Linked DNA regions of Homo sapiens: all the other regions are linked to region 3. The links are contacts of gene promoters, found by promoter capture Hi-C in blood cells and fetal thymus (Javierre and others, 2016). All regions are on one chromosome and are shown on one strand. The core of a region is centred on a gene start or on the middle of the fragment in contact, and the rest is flanking DNA. Distances in the headings are between cores, read along the strand shown. Region 1 overlaps PTPRJ (protein tyrosine phosphatase receptor type J). Region 2 overlaps CKAP5 (cytoskeleton associated protein 5). Region 3 holds the start of MTCH2 (mitochondrial carrier 2). Region 4 overlaps CKAP5 (cytoskeleton associated protein 5).

The links. Contacts are between HindIII fragments. The CHiCAGO score rates a contact against its expected background, and 5 or more counts as called.
Region 1: a contact is called between a fragment that was not itself captured here and the fragment with the promoter of MTCH2 in region 3, in 1 of 17 cell types (total B cells). The highest score is 5.0, in total B cells.
Region 2: a contact is called between a fragment that was not itself captured here and the fragment with the promoter of MTCH2 in region 3, in 1 of 17 cell types (monocytes). The highest score is 7.2, in monocytes.
Region 4: a fragment that was not itself captured here is called in contact with the fragment with the promoter of MTCH2 in region 3 in 1 of 17 cell types (monocytes); the score reaches 5.5 in monocytes.

What each region holds. Positions count from the first base shown.
Region 1 is chr11:48,161,456-48,167,093 of GRCh38, forward strand. PTPRJ (protein tyrosine phosphatase receptor type J) reads left to right here. Exons shown (of 25, transcript NM_002843.4): 23 at 2,003-2,163; 24 at 2,925-3,060. Among named protein-coding and RNA genes, the nearest start is that of OR4B1, 53 kb to the right of the region's middle. The HindIII fragment of the contact is 196 bases long and covers 2,484-2,679 here.
Region 2 is chr11:46,799,628-46,804,726 of GRCh38, forward strand. CKAP5 (cytoskeleton associated protein 5) reads right to left here. Exons shown (of 44, transcript NM_001008938.4): 9 at 1,573-1,677. Among named protein-coding and RNA genes, the nearest start is that of SNORD67, 40 kb to the left of the region's middle. The HindIII fragment of the contact is 2,298 bases long and covers 2,544-4,841 here.
Region 3 is chr11:47,639,173-47,644,236 of GRCh38, forward strand. MTCH2 (mitochondrial carrier 2) reads right to left here and starts at 3,387. Exons shown (of 13, transcript NM_014342.4): 1 at 3,207-3,387. The coding sequence starts at 3,293. RefSeq lists a silencer at 3,308-3,577. The HindIII fragment of the contact is 6,217 bases long and covers 1-5,064 here.
Region 4 is chr11:46,820,800-46,826,354 of GRCh38, forward strand. CKAP5 (cytoskeleton associated protein 5) reads right to left here. Exons shown (of 44, transcript NM_001008938.4): 2 at 376-469. The coding sequence starts at 432. Among named protein-coding and RNA genes, the nearest start is that of CKAP5, 23 kb to the right of the region's middle. RefSeq lists an enhancer at 5,386-5,555. The HindIII fragment of the contact is 8,913 bases long and covers 1-5,555 here.

The DNA of each region.
Region 1 (5,638 bases), core at 1,332-3,831, 520 kb after region 3:
TAATTCTTTACTAATTGCTGTGTCTCAAAGGGTCTGGCCTCAATATTTCAGTTCCTCCTCTGGAGATGCCATCAAAGCTGTTACCATGATCTGGCCACCTAAATAATGCAGCTCACAGTAGTAGAAAAATGTCATGCTTATTTCTTTTCTTTTCTTTTCTTTTTTTTCTTTTTTTGAGATGGAGTCTCTCTCTGTCATCCAGGCTGGAGTGCAGTAGCACAATCTCAGCTCACTGCAACCTCTGCCTCTCGGGTCCAAGTGATTCTCCTGCCTCAGCCTCCTGAGTAGCTGGGACTACAGGCACCTGCCACCATGCCCAGCTAATTTTTTTTGTATTTTTAATAGAGATGGGGTGTCACCATATTGGCCAGGCTGGTCTTGAACACCTGACCTTGTGATCCACCTGCTCGGCCTCCAAAAGTGTTAGGATTACAGGTGGGAGTCACTGTGCCCGGCCTGTCATGCTTATTTCTATAGATTTTGCTCATTTGAACTGACTGGCTTCTCCTTGGTTGCCTCCACTGCTTGGGGCTTACCTTGTGGAGGGGAATTTAGGATGGAGTTGTCCACATCATTTTTAAAAATTGCTGTTACTATGATTATTATTTTTTATTAACTAAACTCCAGACTTTATTCAGATTTCATGTTTTTCCACTAAAGCCTTGTTTTGTTCCTGGCTCTGATCCAGGACACCACATGGCATTTAGTACCATGTTATTTTTTAATTATACAAAATGCCTGAATACATTTTCCTTTAGAAAATCGAGAAATTACAAACAGAGCTAAAGATTTCCTTTGACTACCACCCCTAACCTGAGCCCCTTTGCCCCTCCACGAAGATAATACTAAGTATAACCCTCCTCACTTCTCCCTCTTCCTCTCCCCCTCCTTCTCCCCTTGCCCGCTCCCACTCCCTTTCCTCTCCCTCCTCCCTCTCCCTCCTCCCTCTCCCTCCCTTTTTCTTCCTCTTCCCCCACCTCCATCTCTCACAGCTGGTTTCTGTCTTTGGATCAGTACTTCTGGTTAAATGTGTGAATGTTAACTTTATCTGTGATGAGGTCTTCTAGCACCTCTCCCTTCACTCTGTCTGTTTTTCCTGTTTTCCAAATTTTGAATACTGCACATTCTTATCATGAATATACATTTCAAAAAATGAGTGTCAAAGGGCAGCTGTCATAATGGAGATGGAAATGCCTGCAGTGCAGATGTAGGTCACATGGGTACGGATGTAGGTCACATGGGTATGGTCATTCCCTGGTATGGGCATAACGAGTACAGCTGAGTCAGGGACAGGACTCGCCCCAGCTGGGGTGGGCTTCTGGTGCTTCAAGGTATATGCTTTGGTATGAGGTAGGGAACCAGTCTGTGTAATAATGAGCTCTATTGTCTTTCAGATGTTGAAATGGATGGTTTTTTGGGGGAGTCCTTTCTCAGCTCTCTCCAATTCTAAATATTTGCATGGTGCTTGCTAGTGGCCTGTCACTTTATTCACTTCTCTAGGGGACATAGTGAATTATGAGGCCATTCTTGCCTAGAAGGCACTGATTATCATGGTGTATTTGAGTAAATTATTTTTGGTTTTATTGTCAGTGACATTCCCAGGGGGGCTCGGGGATGGGGCTCATGCAGCTCTAAGGAGGTGCAGGTGTAAGAATGTGAGTTCATTATTGATAGGCAGCTGTGGCAGGAAGGGAAGGATCTGAATGCAGAATTGGAGGATGAGGGACTTCTGTTGCATCTGAAATCAGTGTTGGGGAAATGACTTCACTTCTGTGAATCTCTGCTGCCTCATCTTTAAAGGGGGATAATAAACTCTCCTTCTTGAGCATATTGTGAGGGTTTGATGAGCAAGCACTTTATCAGCTGCTGTGCAAATGTAAAGTTTAATTTTTAGTCATTACAACTCCTGGTTAGTACTCAGGCTCTGCTTGATTTCCCCTGCCTTTTTGATGTTGTTAGGCAGCCTTTCTGTCTGGATCTAAATCATTTTCTGGGCTTTTAGATCCAGACAAGTGAGAGTCACCCTCTGAGACAGTTCCATTTCACCTCCTGGCCAGACCACGGTGTTCCCGACACCACTGACCTGCTCATCAACTTCCGGTACCTCGTTCGTGACTACATGAAGCAGAGTCCTCCCGAATCGCCGATTCTGGTGCATTGCAGGTACGCAGATGGCACGTCACGTGTGACAGATTTCAAATGTCATTATATATTTATGAGCACTTTACAAAAGCAAAGCCTAAGAGGGAATGTAATAGGCATTTATGAATTCAGGAAAGGTTTGGATAAGGAACCATGGACTTACTCCCTAAGCCCTGAGCTTCCAAAACAGGGGTTGGCAAACTGTAACCCATGGATCAAATCTGGTCAGCTGCTGTTTTTGTAAATAACATTTTCTAGGAACACAGCATGCCCATTTATTTATATATTGTTTATGGTTGCTTTTCTGCTACAGTGACAGAAAGAGACCATATGGTTTGCAAAGCTTAAGATGTTAACTATCTGGCCCTTTACTGAAAAAGTTTGCCAACCCCTAACAATAAGAAGTTAGCTTTGAAGCTAAAGGAATTAATTTAGGACAGAAGACAGGAGGGGCTCTGTTGCCCAGTGGGGAAAAAATGGCTAAAATGTGCCGCCATCCTGGGTTATGGGCAACTTGAATGGAACTGAGATTGAAGAAGCTTGAGCAAAGGGTTATATGTGTGGCATCTGACTCAAATGTGAGTTTGGGACTTAGGCCCCAGTCCCAAGCTAGTGCTGTCTGACTTGCTGAGGCTTCAACTGAGCAAATGTGTACTGATCCTGTGCATTGCCCTCAAAGTGTGACAGTGAAGGAAAGCAAGATATATGTACAAATGAGGAACTCTAAGAGGGTTGCAGTCGAGGGAACCCACTGTAATAGGCTTATTTCTCTTTTCTCTCAGTGCTGGGGTCGGAAGGACGGGCACTTTCATTGCCATTGATCGTCTCATCTACCAGATAGAGAATGAGAACACCGTGGATGTGTATGGGATTGTGTATGACCTTCGAATGCATAGGCCTTTAATGGTGCAGACAGAGGTGAGGCCAAGATCTGTATTTGACATTCCACCCTTCCCCTCCATTTTTTTTTTTTTTTTTTTTTTTTTTGAGACGGAGTCTTGCTCTGTCGCCCAGGCTGGAGTGCAGTGGCATGATCTTGGCTCACTGCAACCTCTGCCTCCTGGGTTCAAGTGATTCTCCTGCCTCTGCCTCCCAAGTAGCTGGGATTACAGGCACGCACACCATGCCCAGCTAATTTTTGTAATTTTAGTAGAGACGGTGTTTCTCCATGTTGGCCAGGCTGGTCTCGAACTCCTGACCTCAAGTGATCTGCCTGCCTCAGTGTCCCGAAGTGCTGGGATTACAGGCATGAGCCACTTTGCCTGGCCCTTCCCCTCCATTTTTAAAAGGTTGCATTGTGTCATGCACTTGTGTTAAAATATGTCACCCTTCCAGATCTTTCCAGCTCTTGGCTGTGAACTAACACTGGATTTCTTTGCAGACTTTAAGCTGACTTGGAATTAAATTACCCAATACAAGTGACATAGTAGTACTGATGTCAGTAATGGAACTACTACTGAGATAGTGTCAGGATTCTTTACCTTGCTGCCTCTGACTCATTAAATAATCTTAGGACATCTTTGAACTTTGGCTTCCAGGTTTTAAACTCATAAAACTGGTATTTTCCAGTCTTTGTTTCTAAGAAGGTCTGACCATCTTTAAAATAAGCTAATGAAACAAACTCATCAAACATTAATGATGTGACATATCATAATGCTGCTTAAATGTTAATACAGCAATTTATCCTCACCCAGACTTGTACATTTTAAAGACTATCAATTATCATAGCTACAGAAGGGTGGCTGACCAGCGGAGAAAAGGAACACTTAATATCTATGGTATAGTTTCTGTACTACTGCTGGATTTGGTTTTACCCAAACTGTTACTGAGAAGTGTTTTTGAGGCATGTTTTCAACAGAACATATTGCAAAGTTGCTTTCCTCAAAGGGGTGAATGTTCCTTGACCAGGATGAGAGCAGAATATTAATTTTGTATCAGGCTATCGTCCTGTACCGATTTAGAACTCTATGAATATGTGCTGTGTTTTTGAGTCTAGCAGGGAATGTTCTAGATGCCTGGGTACATTGCGTGCTCTGGGGTGAGCTTGGTGGTTGTTGTGGAAAGAGTGAAATTCAACTCCTGTGTTGGTCAAAAGAGAGATTTTCTTTTTTCTGCTATAATTATATAAAGTAGTATTTCTCAATCTTTTATCCTTTTTTGAGAAACATAGAACTCTTATCCCTGCTACTAGAGTCTAATCTCTTTTTTATATTTTGAAAACAATACTTATTCATATGAAAGCATTTGACAATATATTTTTCTCTCCTCTTTTTTTTTTTTTTGAGACGGAGACTTGCTCTGTCACCGGGCTGGATTGCAGTGGTGCGATCTCGGCTCACTGCAACCTCTGCCTCCTGGGTTCAAGCGATTCCCCTGCCTCAGCCTCCCAAGTAGCTGGGACTACAGGCGTGTGCCACCATGCCCAGCTAATTTTTTTTTTGTATTTTAGTAGAGATGGGGTTTCACCATGTTGGCCAGGATGGTCTCGATCTCCTGACCTCATGATCCGCCCGCCTCGGCCTCCCAAATTGCTGGGATTACAGGTGTGAGCCACCGTGCCTGGCCTCAATATATTTTTCTCTTACTCTTCCTTCCCCAATCCTGCTTCCTGGAGGTAGCCAATGTTTATAGTTTGGTGTACATCTTTATAAGACTCTTTATGTACATCTGTAAACACACACACACACACACGCACACACAGTACTTTGAAAAAATTGGATGCTGTTTTTTTTTTGAGATGGAGTCTTGCTCTGTTGCCCAGGCTGGAGTGCAGTGGTGCCATCTCAGCTCACTGAAACCTCAACCTCCTGGGTTCCAGCGATTCTCCTGCCTCAGCCTCCTGAGTAGCTGGGATTACAGGTGTGTGCCACCACGCCCAGCAAATTTTTGTATTTTTAGTAGAGACGGGGTTTCACCATGTTGGCCAGGCTGATCTCGCACTCCTAACCTGAGCCGATCTACCTGTCTTGGCCTCCCCAAAGTGCTGGGATTACAGACAGGAGCCACCGCGCCTGGCCAGATCCTGTTTTATGTATGTTGCTTCTCTGTGATTTTTTTTCTCCTCTTATAATATCATGGATATTTTTCTGTGTCAGCTTATACCCTTGTTTCCTCTTTTCTTCATCACTATCCACAGATTCTGATATACCTACCTGAAGGATAGTCCTCATCCAGCTCCACCTGATCATCTCCTTTTAACCTCGCTCCTCGGTTGAGCATTACAGTTGATTCTTACTCTGTACAGTCTCACTAGCCAAGGCAATCTTGTTGGACATTTGATTGTTCGAATGTGTGTGTGCATTTTTTCCTCTACATTTCCTCCTTCCTTTGCCCTTCCCTGAGACTGTGGCATTTTTCCTTGGGGAGGGGAGGTGTGGAGTGTGCTCTTCTGGTTGAGAATCATTGAGGAAGGACATCTTGCTTCTGTGATTTCAGATTTCACTGCAATGTTGTTACCTCTTGAAACATGTTCGCTTGAACCGTTTGCTGTTGGGTG
Region 2 (5,099 bases), core at 2,443-4,942, 840 kb before region 3:
AACAAACTGAAACAAAGCCAGAATCAGAACTCAAACTGGAAAGCCAGTTAATTATCCAACCATAATTTGGTAAATTAAAATGAATTTTAGGCCGGGTGTGGTGGCTCAAGCCTGTAATCCCAGCACTTTGGGAGGCTGAGGCAGGCAGATAGCTTGAGCTCAGGATTTCGAGACCAGCCTGGGCAAGGTGGCAAAACCCCATCTCTACCAAAAATACAAAAAGTACTCAAGCATGGTGTGGGGTGTGCCTGAAGTCCCAGCTACTCAGGAGACTGAGGTGGGAGGATCACCTGCGCCTAGGAGGTTAAGGCTGCAGTGAACTGAGATGGTGCCACTGCACTCCAGCCTGGGTGACAAAGTGAGACCCTGTCTCAAAAAAAAAAAACTAAAATTATTCTCTGAACTGATATTTAAGTGGTGTAGGAAAAAATTGTTTTTTATCTTGAAAAATTATTCCCAATATAAAAGTGTAAAATATCCTAAGTAATATAAAATTGATCAAAATGGCATATACACATCGATATTATATAATATTGATTGCTATAAAAATAGATTTTAATTTTATTTCAATTTATGATGTATATGTCTAAGGGTTTTACAGACCCTTATTTTTATTTCCCTAGTAATAAGCCAGTCATGATTTATTTTTATTTGGTAGTGTCTTCTTTTTCTTCAGTTAAGTTCTCTGAGATTATTTTTAATGCTATGAGTAAGCAAGCTCCAAATACCATAGCTCATGTGAGGCTAGGTATTAGCTTCACAATATAAAATGGACACATGACTAGGGACTATTAGGAAACTCCTAAGTCAGTCTAGGGAATCAAATGATGAAGGGGCTAGCAAGCTAAACTCTAAAGATCAATAAGGTCAATTTTTAGGATGCTGAGCCATTCTTAGTAATGCAGACCGGATTTAGAGGCCAAAGGACAGATGCCACAGTTAAAGAAAACATCTTAATTAAAATTATTACCAAATTTGATTGGAAACAAACTTATACAAATAGTAAGTCAACAAATGTCTCCAGTCAGATTTTCTTTGAATAAGTAAAACGGAGATAACCTATATAAAATATATAACATTGTAACCTATATAAAATGTCTCAAATATGTAAGTAAATTATATATTAAAATAGGAAAACAATGTAAAACACATTTTATATATTAACCTCACAGTTTTACATTTATAGTTTTACATTGCCTTTCCGACTCTCATTTTCATTCTGGTCCTGGTCGTTACAAGTTTTGTTTCATCTTGTTATGATGTGTATAATGTTGTAAGAACAAAGCAAGATACTAGTAAGTAAATAAGTAATAAGCAAATAAATAAACTCAACTAAGTACTTTAGGCCTAGTGCCTGACTTTCTACATAAGGCCTATAAATTTTGTTACAACTGACATCTACTGAAATTTCTAAGATATATCTATGCTGAATATTAACAAAACAGAGAGAAATTTACTTTGTACAGTATATACACATCTATGCCAAGGAGTTGTTTTAAAGCAAACAGCAAACTAGGCCTACCATTTTTGATAAATTTTGTTGATCTGTATCTAAAAAGGAGTGTTACTTACATGTCCTGCATATTGTCCAAATTTCTTCCTTAGCCCAACAGCCAGGCCAGTAAGACATTTTGCTGCCAAAGCCACCAACATGACATTGGTGTCCTTTCCAACAACCTACAAAGGGGGGTAAAAAGGAAAACAAAATAGTCACAGCCATGTAGAAGGGTATTGAAATTTTATTCTCAAAAGAACTCTGAGGCCGGGTGCAGCGGCTCACACCTGTAATCCCAGCACTTTGGGAGGCCAAGGTGGGTGGACCACCTGAGGTCAGGAGTTTGAGATCAGCCTGACCAACATGGTGAGACCCTGTCTCTACTAAAAATACAAAAATTAAGCAGGCATGGTGGCAGGCACCTGTAATCCCAGCTATTTGGAAGGCTGAGGCAGGAGAATCACTTGAACCTGGGAGGCGGAGGCTGCAGTGAGCCGAGATTGCACCATTGCACTCCAGCCTGGGCAACGCAGCAAGACTCCATCTCAAAAAAAAAAAAGAACTCTGAAAGCTCTTATGCTAATATATGACCAATTTTATTTACTACAACAGAGGAGAAATTCTTCTTTCATTGTATCGAATTTGGGAGCTTCCCTTCATTATGTTTAGTCTTCTATCTTAAAGTTCTACTAATAAAACATAGATAAAACCACAACATCAAATTGCTCACTATCCAGTAGTGGCAGTCTGGGCTGTCAGCACTGTTCAACTGTGCAGGAAATGACCCTGATAATGGCAGAGAGACGAGAGGTCTGCTGACTTTGCTTTGGGACAAGGAAAATGAAAAGGCAATGTATCTCTGAAAGACATCACAGGGCAACAGCTCTAATATTCATAACCAAGAAGCACCAGTACAAACGGCTGCAGGTACCTTCAGGAAGTCCATGGGGACTCTAAATTGTGAATGCTACTGCATTCTTCTGAGAACCATTCTTCTGAGGGAGCTTCTGGCCTTGAGGCTGCCACTTCAGTCATCTAATAATGGTTAAGCTTCAATTCAGAGTCTCAGTCGATTCTCCTCTAGCACTGCTTATATTACTGCCCTCCTATGCCACAACCCACAAAGCCCAGCACTTATCTAAACTCACGGGTAGTAGCTGCATCTGTGTCAATTTAACAAGATACTGACTACGACTGGGTTCCTTCCTGGTAAGATTTTACTGTGGTACACTGCCCAATCAGTTGGTGTTAAAAAGCTGCTTTATTATATAATAATACAGGCAGTGTGACGTGTGCCTGTAGTCCCAGCTACTTGGGAGGCTGAGGCAAAAGGATCACTTGAATCTGGGAGGCAGAGGTTGCAGTGAGTGCAGATCGCACCACTGCACTCCAGCCTGGGTACCAGAGCAAGACAGACAGACAGACAGACAGACAGACACACACACACACACACACACACACACACGGCTGCTTTATTTATAAATGCACACACACACACGGCTGCTTTATTTTTAAATGCCCCCAACTCTTCTTTTTTCACTCTTTTCCCAGTAAGAGTAATGCCTCCAGTCTACTTTGAATTTTATCTAGTCCCTACAATGTGGTGTTCCATAAGCAGAATGCTTTATTCTAGATTCTCTGCATTAAACAACTCCTAACATGCAACATGAAAGAAGTTCTACTTGGCACTTATATGCACTCCTTAAGTGCTGAGGAATAAGGATAAAGAAACTAACATTTATTGAAAAAACAAATTAGGCACCAAAATTTTGTAGGCACTTTATAATCCTTTTTAAGTTTAATTTTCACCCAAACCCTATGAGGTAAGGACTATTATTATTTCAACTTTGCAGATTCACAGCCAGGCATGGTGGTTCACGCTTGTAACCTCAGGACCTTAAGAGGTTGAGGTGGGAGGATCGCTTGAGCCCAGGAGTTCAAGACCAACCTGGGCAACATAGCGAAACCCTGTCTCTACCAAAAATAGAAAAATTAGCCAGGCATGGTGGCATGCGCCTGTAGTCCCAGGTACTCAGGAGGCTGAGGTAGGAGAATCTCTTGAACCTGGGAGGCGGAGGTTGCAGTGAGCCAAGATCATACCACTGCACTCCAGCTTGGGTGACAGAGCGAGACACTATCTCAGAAACAAAAAAACAACAAAAAAGTGCAGACTTCAAAAAGATTTTTTTTTTGAGACAGAGTCTGGCTTGATCTCAGCTCACCGCAACCTCCCCCTCCCAGGTTCAAGCGATCTTCCCACCTCAGCCTCCCGACTGGCTGGGACTAAAGGCACATGCTACCACACCTGCTAATGTTTCTATTTTTTGTAGAAACAGAGTTTCTTCATGTTGCCCAGTCTGGTCTTAAACTACTGGGCTCAAGCAATCAGCCCGCCTCGGCCTCCCAAAGTGTTGGGATTACAGATGTGACCTACTGTACCCAGCCAGATTCTAAAAATTAAATAAAGATTAATGTGCTTACAGTCAGGTAGTTAGCAAATGGTAATGCTGTGTGATTCAAACCCAGGTCAATTCTGACTCCAAAGTTTTTGCTCCTTTTATTAAGTAAAGCATGTTCTCCCTCTCAACTTGTGTTAAGTTCACTTTTCCTTACGAGAGGATGAGATCAGGGTCCTAATAAACATTTTGTTAAATCTCTAATTACTGTAAGTCTATGAAGAAAAAAATTTTCCATTCATTTCTGTATTGAAATCACTATTGGTATTTATAAATGTTCTGATTATTTTTCCTTATCAAAATACCTCTCAGATATGATTTAGATGCTAGGCTTTATATTTAGCATCTAAATATATATTCTAGGAATGGACATCAAAAACATGTAAGATCCCATTCCAACAAATTCTAGTTCAATGAATCTGGGATGAAATTTGGACATCAGTATTTTTAAATGGCTCAAAGGGTGATTTTGTCATATGGGCTCAGTTAAAAAACTATCATTCTATTCCTTTCTTAGGAGAATACCTCTCCCTATCCATTGTTGGAACAGTAACCAGTGGGAGCTAGACTCTAGACACTCATGATCTTATTGTATAGTATTGAAGAAGATACTGCGAATCTGTTAAATTTCAAGATTGCAAAGGCTCAAATAAACTTATAAGTGAGCAATGGACCAGATACCCTAATATAATACCTGCCTGTCACACTCATTGACACTCATTGTTTATTCCCATAAACAAGTTATTCTCAACAGGGAAATGAGAGTAGGGAAGATGGAGAAGTGTTTATTTTTAAGAAAAGTAACATATGAGGGGGGACTCCATTTCAGAGGTAAGAAAAACAATGACTTCTGTCTTTTCAGTAATTTCTGTTCTAGACCAGGGAATGGAAGCTTTAGCTCATAATCTCAATATAATTTAAACAATAGGAAATCTTGTACAGTTTTAAGTGCTGTCACTTTTCTCATAAATTGAGGCCTACAGTATTAAAACAAAGTGCTTTAAAGTAATTATCAATTGGTATTTATCTTTAACTAGAAATTAAAGCCACTAGTTAATAATAACTAAAGCACACCGTTGACAGAGGAAAGGAAACAAATTAATGAAACCCATTATGAATTACTGTGTTTAGAAAACTATGATGAAAAC
Region 3 (5,064 bases), core at 2,137-4,636:
GGTTTTCCAAGGCAATGATGAAGCATCATTCTTGTAGGTTTTTCTTCTGTTGGTAATACTGAGTTCAATAAACTCCAAGTTTCATTTTGGTTCAAATTCTATGACGTAAACCATGTAGCTGAAATAGGCTAATATCAAACTGAAAGAAGGGAACTTTTGCGTTAGGAAAGCTACAGTTTACTAAGGGGGCTCAAAAATACCTTCTAAATAAAATCTAAGGCACATTTTGTATTTGAACAAAACTAGAAGACATCCATTACGCCAGCATCAGCTGCATATTTGGCAACCCAGACAAAACACTCAAAAGGCAAATGCAGATATAGCTGGATAATTCACTTAGGAAAGAATTACAAGCTAACTTCATGTTAGAAGAACAGGCTGTCGGTCGGGCGCAGTGGCTCATGCCTTGTAATCCCAGTACTTTGGGAGACCGAGGGGGATGGATCACCTGAGGTCAGGAGTTCGAGACCAGTCTGGCCAACATGGTGAAACCCTGTCTCTACTAGAACTAAAAAATTAGCCGGGCGTAGGGGCGGGCGCCTGTAATCTCAGCTACTTGGGAGGCTGAGGCAGGAGAATCACTTGAACCCGGGAGGCAGAGGTTGCAGTGAGCCGAGATTGTGTCACTGCACTCCAGCCGAGGCCGACAACAGCGAGACTCCATCTCAAAAACAAACAAACAAACGAACAAACAAAAAAACACAGGCTGTCATTAACAGCTAATGAAGTCCATTTTATATAGTTAATGATTACCATGGTCTTTGTACAATATACCCAGGATTTTTAACACTACAGATACTTGACAGAATGAATGCTGTAGGACATAGTTTTGATTATTGTTGTGACTCTTAATCTGTCCTATTAAGTAACTCCTGGGCTGGCGTGGTGGCTCATGCATGTAATCCCAGCACTTTGGGAGGCCAAGGTGGGCGGATCACCTGAGGTCAGGAGTTCAAGACCAGCCTGGCCAACATGGTGAAACCCTGTCTCTACTAAAAACACAAAAATTAGCCAGGTGTGGTGGCGGACACCTGTAATCCCAGCTACTCAAGAGGCTAAGGCAGGACAGTCGCTTGAACCTGGGAGGCGGAGGTTGCAGTGAGCCGAGATTGTGCCATTGCATGCCAGTCTGGGTGACAAGAGCAAAACTCCATCTCAAAAACAACAACAAATAAATAAACAAATAACTCCTGTCTGAGCTCCCTGAAAGTGCTACCAAGTAACCATTTTTATTTTTATTTAGTTACTTATTTATTTTTTGGAGACAGAGTTTCGCTCTTGTCGCCCAGGCTGGAGTGCAGTGGCACGATCTAGGTCACTGCAACCTCCATCTCCCAGGTTTAAGCCATTCTCGTACCTCAGCCTCCTGAGTAGCTGGGATTACAGGCACCCACCACCACACCCAGCTAATTTTTGTATTTTTAGTAGAGAGGGGGTTTTGCCATGTTGGCCAGGCTAGTCTTTAACTCCTGACCTCAGGTGAACCGCCTGTTTCAGGCTCCCAAAGTGTTGGGATTTACAGGCGTGAGCCACCGTGCCCGGCCCAAGTAACTATTTTTACAACTGAGCATTTGGGAATTTCACCAAAACTCCTGGGCTACTTGGCAACACATAGATGTTGTGAAATCAGAATTAAGAATATTCAAAGTTTTTGGGGCAAGAGCTCTGAACATCATTAGAAAACCCCGTCTCCCAGAGAAGTATTGAGTAGTGGGTTCTTTTTTGTTTTGTTTTGTTTTTTTGAGGCTGAGTTTTGCTCTGTTGCCCAGGCTGGAGTACAATGGCGCGATCTCGGCTCACTGCAACCTTCACCTCCCGGGTTCAAGCGATTCTCCTGCCTCAGCCTCCCGACTAGCTGGGATTACGTGCACGCACCACCACACCTGGCTATATTTTGTATTTTTAGTAGAGACGGGGTTTCACCATGTTGGTCAGACTGGTCTCAAACATCGACCTCGTGATCCGCTCACCTCGGCCTCCCAAAGTGCTGGGAAGGCGTGAGCGAACGCGCCCGGCCCCAAGGGTTCTTACTATATACTGCAACATGCTGTCACCTCCGATGCTATCTAGCCCCAAATGTGCCAATTCTGTTTTGGATGTTACAGTACATTCTAATCAGTCTTTGTTCTAAGTACAAAGAATTTATTTGCAATAGCCTTTAACATATGGAATCTGAATTCACACAGGTCTACTCAGCAAGAAATAATTTGGATTCCCAACAACTCAAGAATAAGAAATGGGGCCCTCTCTAGTGTCTTGCCTATTTTTTACAGAAAAGTAGACGGCGAGACAGGGGTTCTAAAAACTGTTCCATTCCTAGGCACAGTGCATGAGGTAATTATGTCAACTCTCAGTAAAAGCATAAAAAAAAGAATGACCTGCCCATTACAGGGATATAGCAAAGGAACTGGAAACACTAAGTCTATCACTTACTTGGCCTACCTGCATGTGAATATAAAATACCATGTAATAATTATTTGACAGTAGATTAGAAACTAACTCCCATGTTTAAACTCGCTAAAACTCAGCTTCACTAATTTCCAGCTCTGACAAATGTGATTTTCATTGTCAGGAGCCACATGGGCCGCTGCTGGAAAGCGCTCAATGCATCCTTCCGAAATCTGACAGAGCAACCCCTTCATTAACACTTCTGAATGAGCTCCTTGTGTTTCTCTCAGTATCTGGTGCGAAAACCTCGGAACAGAAAAGCAGTAGTAACAGTAGCATAAAAAGAAAAAAAAAAGGAATAAAAAATAAAATGTTGGTTCCCACCTAACTTCACATTTGTCTTCAACTGAGTATTTCGTGTTTTGCGTCTGAGATTTTGGGGGGAGTAGTGGTGAATGTGAATTTCGGAGGGGCGAGAGGGAGGGTTCGGAAGCCTTTGGTGGCGACCGGCCAGGATCCACCTCAGTGACGAAGAACCAAAGTTCAGAGGATCCGCCGGGCAGGGCAGGGCCGGGTGGCGGTTGGCTAAGGGAGGAGAGGGCCTCAACGCTGGGCGGCGAGGCGAGGGCTCGGCGAGGCCCCCAAGCGGGGCCGCGGGACTGAGGAAGCTGTCCCTGCGGGGAGGTAAAGGGCAGCGGAGGAGCAGCAGCATCTCGGGAGAATGAAAGGCCCGCAAGGCTGAGCCGATCCTCAGGCGCCCTGAGCAGCAGCGACCGAACGGGGCGCCGGGCGGGGTAGGGAGCGGCGACGCCTCATACCTGGATGAGCACTTTCACGTACATGAGCGGCTGGGACAGGATGGTGAGACCGGAGCCCAGGAGCACCTGACTGGCCGCGTCCGCCATGATGGCACCCGCGGGCGGACGGACAGACAGACGGAGCCACCAAGCGACCCGGTGAGCCGGTCCTAGGTCACGTGCCAGGGCCGCCGGTTTCACTGGCCCGCCCGCGGCGCGCGCGCACGCACGCAGCAGCACGCGCCTCTCCGCCCAGTCCCCGCCCCCCCGTCCCGCCCCGAGAAACGGCAGGCGCTCGCGAGGGGGCGCTGAGGTCGGGGCGGGGCTTAAGGGACAGAGGCGCATGCGTTCTGCCGGGGGCTCGCCCTTCACCAGGAATGACGGTTTCTCTTGCACATGCGCTTCCAGGCCGCAAGTGTCCGGAAACAGAAGAATGGGAGTGTCAGTGGGGGAGTGTGACCGTGACGGCAGAGGCAAGGTCAGAGGACTGAAAAGAAATTGAAAAGGATTCTTCATTATGCTTCATCTCTGCACTTGCCTTTTGGGCATCATCAACATAGGATTCAAAAGATACTCAGCATCAGAGCCGTAACAGTCTCGTGACTGACAAACTCTAAATAAGTATAGCAAATAATGAATCCGCTAGCGAGTGGCTTTTCATTCATTTATTCGTTTGATTAATGTTATCTTTTCAAAAAAACCTTCTCTGACCATTCTAAAATTACCTCCCCCTTTTCTTTTTCTTTCTTTTTTTTTTTTTTTTTGAGACGGAGTCTCGCTCTGTCACCCAGGCTGGAGTGCAGTGGCCCGATCTCAGCTCACTGCAACCTTCGCCTCCCAGGTTCAAGCAATGCTCCTGCCTCAGCCTCCCTAGTAGCTGGGATTACACGCACACGCCACCACGCCCGGCTAATTTTTGTCTATTTAGTAGAGACGGGGTTTCACGATGTTGGCCGGGCTGGTCTCAAACTCCTGACCTCGTGATTCACCCGCCTTGGCCTCCCAAAGTGCTGGGATTACAGGAGTGAGGAGCCATCGCGCCTGGCCACCTCCCTCTTATTTTCTCCCACATTGTGCCCCGTCGTAGCATTATCACTGAAATTATGTCTCCTCCACTGGAATGAAAGCTCCATGAGTTCAGGAACCGTGACAGCCTCTGTTCACGGTTGTGTTTTCAGTGCCCAGCACATACGAGGTGCTCAATAAATATTTATTGCACAAGTGAACAAATACTTCAGTGCCTACCAGTCTACAGGCTATCAGAGGCAAAAGTGAAAAAGGCATTGTCCCTGCTCCTTCAGCCCCAGCTCACGTGTTCTATCAAACAACATTTGGTGAATCTGAGCTTGGAGCAGAGTGAAGTACTGTAGGGGAAAGACTTGGATTTGGATCCTGGCTTTTCCACTGCATCCATTTGTCATTTTAGCTACTTTAATTTCCAGTTTTTGTATCTAAATCTAACACTACTGTGTATCTCTCAGGGTTATTATGAGCATTAAGTGAAATTATGCATAGGAAAGGGTTTTTTTTAAAAAACTTTATATTGAAATACAGATATTGGCTGGGCACGGTGGCTCACACCTGTAATCCCAACACTTTAGAAGGCTGAGGTGGGTGGATCACCTGAGGTCGGGAGTTCAAGACCAGCCTGACCGACATGGTGAAACCCCATCTGTACTAAAAGTACAAAAATTAGTTGGGTGTGATGGCGGGTGCCTGTAATCCCAGCTACTCGGGAGGCTGAGGCAGGAGAATCGCTTGAACTCGGGAGTTGGAGGTTGCAGTGAGCCAAGATTGCGCCATTGCACTCCAGCCTGGGTGACAGGGCGAGACTCAGTCTCAAAAGAATAAATAAATAAAAAATAAAGTTGTAAGAAAC
Region 4 (5,555 bases), core at 452-2,951, 820 kb before region 3:
GGATTTCTAAGGCCAAATTCAGAACACATCTCAAAAGAAGAGTCTCTATATAATAAAATATTAGTAAGTACTTAGGTACCAGAAGTATATTGTACTGTATATACAAGGAGATGAAAAAACTAGCCAGTTACTTTTCATAGATACCACTTACTTTTCACTTCACTAATATCTTTTCTTTGAATTCTTTCCAGAGACAAAAAAATTTTTAGTTGAGCTACAGAAACCTATTTTCAATGAGAAAAAATAACATATCTAACAAGGCATCAGTATTTTTGAAACTGCCAATGTTTTCACACACTTCTAAGTAAGATGATAGTATAACTGCTCACAAAACAAGCCAACGACACTGAAAATCGAATTCCAGAAGAATCTTACCTTGTGTTCACATTTCTGATCAACTGGCAGTTTCAACCACTCACTGTCATCTCCCATTGTGCTTCCAGGTTTTCCTTAGAATTAAGAGTATTTCCTGGTCAGATAAAGGTAGAAACCTGCTTAGCAACCAGGCAGTCTCTTAAGACAAAAATAACTTTTCTGAGATTATTATTTTATCATTCATGCAACAACAAGAGTAAAAATCCCGTTCTTTCGTCAGATCCCCACTTAATTCAATTAACAGGACTTTTTTTTTTTTTTTTTTTTTGAGACGGAGTCTCGCTCTGTCACCCAGGCTGGAGTGCAGTGGCCCGATCTCCGCTTACTGCAAGCTACACCTCCTGGGCTGACGCCATTCTCCTGCCTCAGCCTCCCGAGTAGCCGGGACTACAGGCACCCGCCACCACGCCCGGCTAATTTTTTTGTATTTTTAGTAGAGACAGGGCTTCACCATGTTAGCCAGGACAGTCTCGATCCTGACCTCGTGATCCACCCGCCTCGGCCTCCCAAAGTGCTGGGATTACAGGCGTGAGCCACCGCGCCCGGCCAATAGAATTTTTTTTTTAAAGTCACTCAAAAGACAGGACACAGTGGTGGCTCATGCCTGTAATCTCAGCACTTTGGGAGGCTGAGGTGGGCAGATCACCTGAGATCAGGAGTTCAAGACCAGTCTGGTCAACATGGTGAAATCCCGTCTCAATTGAAAATACAAAAATTAGCTGGGTGTGGTGGTGCAGGCCTGTAGTCCCATCTACTCGGAAGTCTGAGACAGGAGAATCGCTTGAACCTGGGAGGAGGAGGTTGCAGTGAGCCAAGATTGTCCCACTGCATTCCAGCCTGGGCGACAGAGTAAGACTCCATCTCAAAAAAATAAAGTCACTCAAAAAATATAAATATAAATATATTGCAGTCTGGGCAACATGGTGGAACCCCATCTATACTAAAAACACAAAAATTAGCCAGGCGTAGTGGTGTGTGTGCCTGTAGTCCCAGCTACTCGGGAAGCTGAGGTGGGAGGACTACTTGAGCCCAAGAGACAGAAGTTGCAGTGAGCTGTGATCATGCCACTACACTCCAGCATGGGCAACAGAGCAAGACCCTGTCTCAAAAAAACCAAAAATTTGTTTTCTAAAAAATGATGCTTTTATTTTCCCAAATAAGAACTTCTTAGATATAAAACGAAGCTGGAATAAAACTGAATTGCTGAGCTAAATGGCCTTTTAAAAGGCCAAGAAAAAAGTTTTGGAAAAAGTCATACTTTCACCTAGAATTACTTATAGAAAATAATCAATATGGGGGTCGGGTGTGGTGGCTGACGCCCGTAATCCCAGCAGTCTGGGAGGCCGAGCCGGGCGGATCACGAGGTCAGGATCGAGACCATCCTGGCTAACACGGTGAAATCCCATCTCTATTAAAAACACAAAAAATTAGCCGGGCTTGGTGGCTGGCGCCTGCAGTCCCAGCCACTCTAGAGGCTGAGATAGGAGAATGGCGTGAACCCGAGAGGCGGAGCTTGCAGTGAGCCGAGATCGCACTGCACTCCAGCCTGGGCAACAGACTCCGTCCCAAAAAAAAAAAAAAAAAAAAAAAGAAAGAAAAGGAAAGAATCAATATGTAAAAATGTTGATACTGCCAAGCTCCCTAATTCTAGCAAACATGACTAGTCAATGTTTATATAAACAAGTACAAAATTAAATCCCTGAATGAACCTTTATACATATTCTTTATGTAAACCATGTTTTTAAGTGAGGTTTAAAGTCAACATCCTTTTAATAACTTTATGCTACCTATCTTCTTTTTTTTGAGACAGCGTCTTGCTCTGTCGTCCAGGCTGGAGTGGAATGAACACGATCTTGGCTCGCTGCAACCTCTGCCTCCTGGGCTCAAGCGATCCTTCCACCTCTGCCTCCTGAGTAGCTAGGATTTGGTGGGACTGCAGGTGTGCACCACCATGCTCGGCTAATTTTGAAATTTTTTGTAGAGACAAGGTCTCGTTATATTGCCCAGACTGGTCTCGAACTCCTGGGCTCAAGTGATCCCACTGATCGTGAGCCACCGCACCCACCCCTATGCTATCTATCTAGACAACACCTTTTTCTTATAAAAGTAATGTGTGTAAACTGCAGAAAATTTAGTAACTACAGAAAAAAATCTAAGTATTAAAATACAATTTTACCACCACCTAATAACCATGATGAACACTAAAGTACGTATCCAGTTTTTTTTCAATACACATGTAGTAATATAAATCATATGAAAAAGACAGGCATAATCCCCTTACAACATTTTTGTTATATGATCACAAACATTTTCCCAGATTTGAGAATATGATGTTTAAAGTCTACATAGCACTCCATTTTACAAATGTACCATAATTACCAACCCTACCATTGGACATTTAAATTGTTTCCAATTTTTCTTTTTCATTTTTGAGACAGGGTCTCACTCTGTCACCCAGGCTGGAGTGCAGTGGTGTGATCACAGCTCATTGCAACCTTGATGTCCTGGGCTCAAGTGATCCTCCCAACCTCCGCCTCCCGGGTTCAAGTGATTCTTCTGCCTTAGCCTCCCAAGGAGCTGGGACTACAGGCACATGTCACCATGCCCAACTAATTTTTTAGTTTTTTGTAGAGATGGGGTCTTACTATGTTGCCCAGGCTGGCCGATTTTTCAATATTATTAATAACATAGAAGCGGTCCTCCGTAATTCTCCATCCCTAGTTCTGGCCTGACATAAAATATGTTTTCAATAAATATTTGTTTATTGAATATATACTCTGGTAATATCTATTCTGAATCAGGCATGGTGCAAAGTACTTTTTAAACACGCTAATTCACTTTATACTGACATCAACTATGTGAAGGAAAGATATTCTCATTTTACACACTAGCTTCACAAATATTAAGTAACCTGCCAAAACAACAAAACTGGTAAGCAATGAAATTAAACTAAGATTCATAGTCTATGCTTCTTCCTTTACATTTTGTTCCCTCCCATGGCAAAGAAGAAAATGTCCCAGAGAAAGATGGAATTGTAAAAGTTTATTAGGATATGTGGAACTTTCATTAAGATTTTTCTTCAAAATCCCTAGGATTGCCATGAAACAGCAGCAGTGTAATTTAAAGGAGTCAGGAGAATCTGCAGGAACTCAAATACACCAATGATGGGAGACAGAATAGTTTAACAGTCTGGAAAACAGTATGGCATTATCAGATACACATGCCCTACCACCCAGCAACTCCATTCCTAGGTGTATAGCCTAGAAACTGATGCAAATTACACCAGAAGACCTATATAGGGATAGTCATAGCAATGTTGTTCATAGTAGTCAAAAGCTGGAAACAGTTCACATGTTCATCAAACTGTGCTTTTCAAACTCAGGACCAGTCTTCCCCCTACCACCCCCACCAACTGAATACTAGTATGTCTGTAAAATACAATAAAAATTATTATACCTCTGTATTTTTTAAGTTGAATGCCAAATGGTCCAGCTGCTGTGAATGCAAAATGGTCTAGCTGCTGTGTAAAACCATTTGGAAGTTTCTCAAAAAGTTAAAAGTATCATATAGGGATGAGCAGACTGATCTGGATTTTATAAACAGATATAAGAACCAAGTTTTTGCTACACAGTAGAGTTTGATGCCTAAAGAGCAAATAAAATTGCCAACAAAGAGAAGCATTAAGAAGATTAATTTGAACTATACATAATGCTTGCTGTGGTTTATTTGATCTAGTCCCTAGTAAAGACACATATTCAGAAATTTCAATTATTCAGAGCTCTCAGATTTTATCCCAGTCTAAAACTGAGGCAAAGACAAGTAGGTCAGCTAAAGTAAGTATGTTTTACAGATATATTATAATCATATACCACTGATCTAAAAATGTCTTCCTAAGAGCTCAAATACCATATAGTCCATGCTATTGCTGAAAAGGTTTAGGCATAATTGTTTATTTTTAGACTAGAGGTTAAGAAATGTTTTCAAGGTTATACATGAAGGCAGAACTTAGAATAAATTCCAAATTGTCTGATTTTTCAGTTTAGTGTTCAAATAAATAACAAATTTCCTATTAAATATGCACTATATCCCATCATAAAAGAGACCCCAAAATCTGTGCATTTTCTCATTAACCAACCATTTAAAAGGGACAGAGAGATTAAGTCATGAGTAATACTAGAGCTGGGCCTAGAACCTATGTCTCCTACTTCTCAGTCTGTCTCTCTTCCCTACAACCCATGGGCCCAAGTGTGGTGTCTTTTTAGTTTAAATTCCTGTATTTTGATAGTCTATAAGAGTAATTACAGAGCTACTGTACAGATTATTTTCTCTTCTACTTAGAGAAAAACCACTGGCAGTATGACTTTTTTATGGCAAATTCCCAAGCTCTTGACCTACAAAAGCTCTTCACTATCACAATACAAGAGATCTGAATTTGATTACCATTCCTGGACTCTCACCTCTGGCTAAGGAGATGCTATTGCAGAAGCACAGAATGATTTTAACAGAAGTTTGAGAAAAACTTCTGCTCCATCAAAAAGCAACCCATTTGAATGACCACTGAGTGTGATGATAGGCTCATAAAAAAAAAAAAAGAAATTATTTTTTTAAAAAAGCAATGCATACACATGCCCAGAAATCTACTCAAACCATGTCTAGGAAGGACAACTGGATTAAAGAAACACAACAACTATGTAACTGTCATAGAAAACTTAAGATTTTTATTATTTAACCAAAATCTGACAAAATCCCATCTCTGAGTAGCAGGTGGCAAAAATGACAACACTTTCCCTCAAATTAAAAAAAAAACTCACTGTCTCCAGGTATTTCCCATTAACAAGGACAAGTGTTATCCTCTTGCCGGAGTATTCTGCATTACCAGGCGGCCAGAAATCTGAACAGTTTTCTAGCAGATTATCTCAAACTTTGGTGTGTTTGCTTTCCTAATCTTGGGACAGTGGCGTCCCACAAATTCCTTCAGAGATGGAGAGGGGTAAAGAGCTGTCTCTTTCACATTGTGCTCTTTATATCAGGAGGAAAGGTTAACTGGACTCTTCCTAAGAGATGTTCACTGTCAACATATCCAAAAGGGGTACGGGATACCACCAACACAGGCCTCTGGAGAGACAGCTAAACCTGGCTGTGAATTAGGACAACTTGGAGTTACTGCTCGACTGTACCAA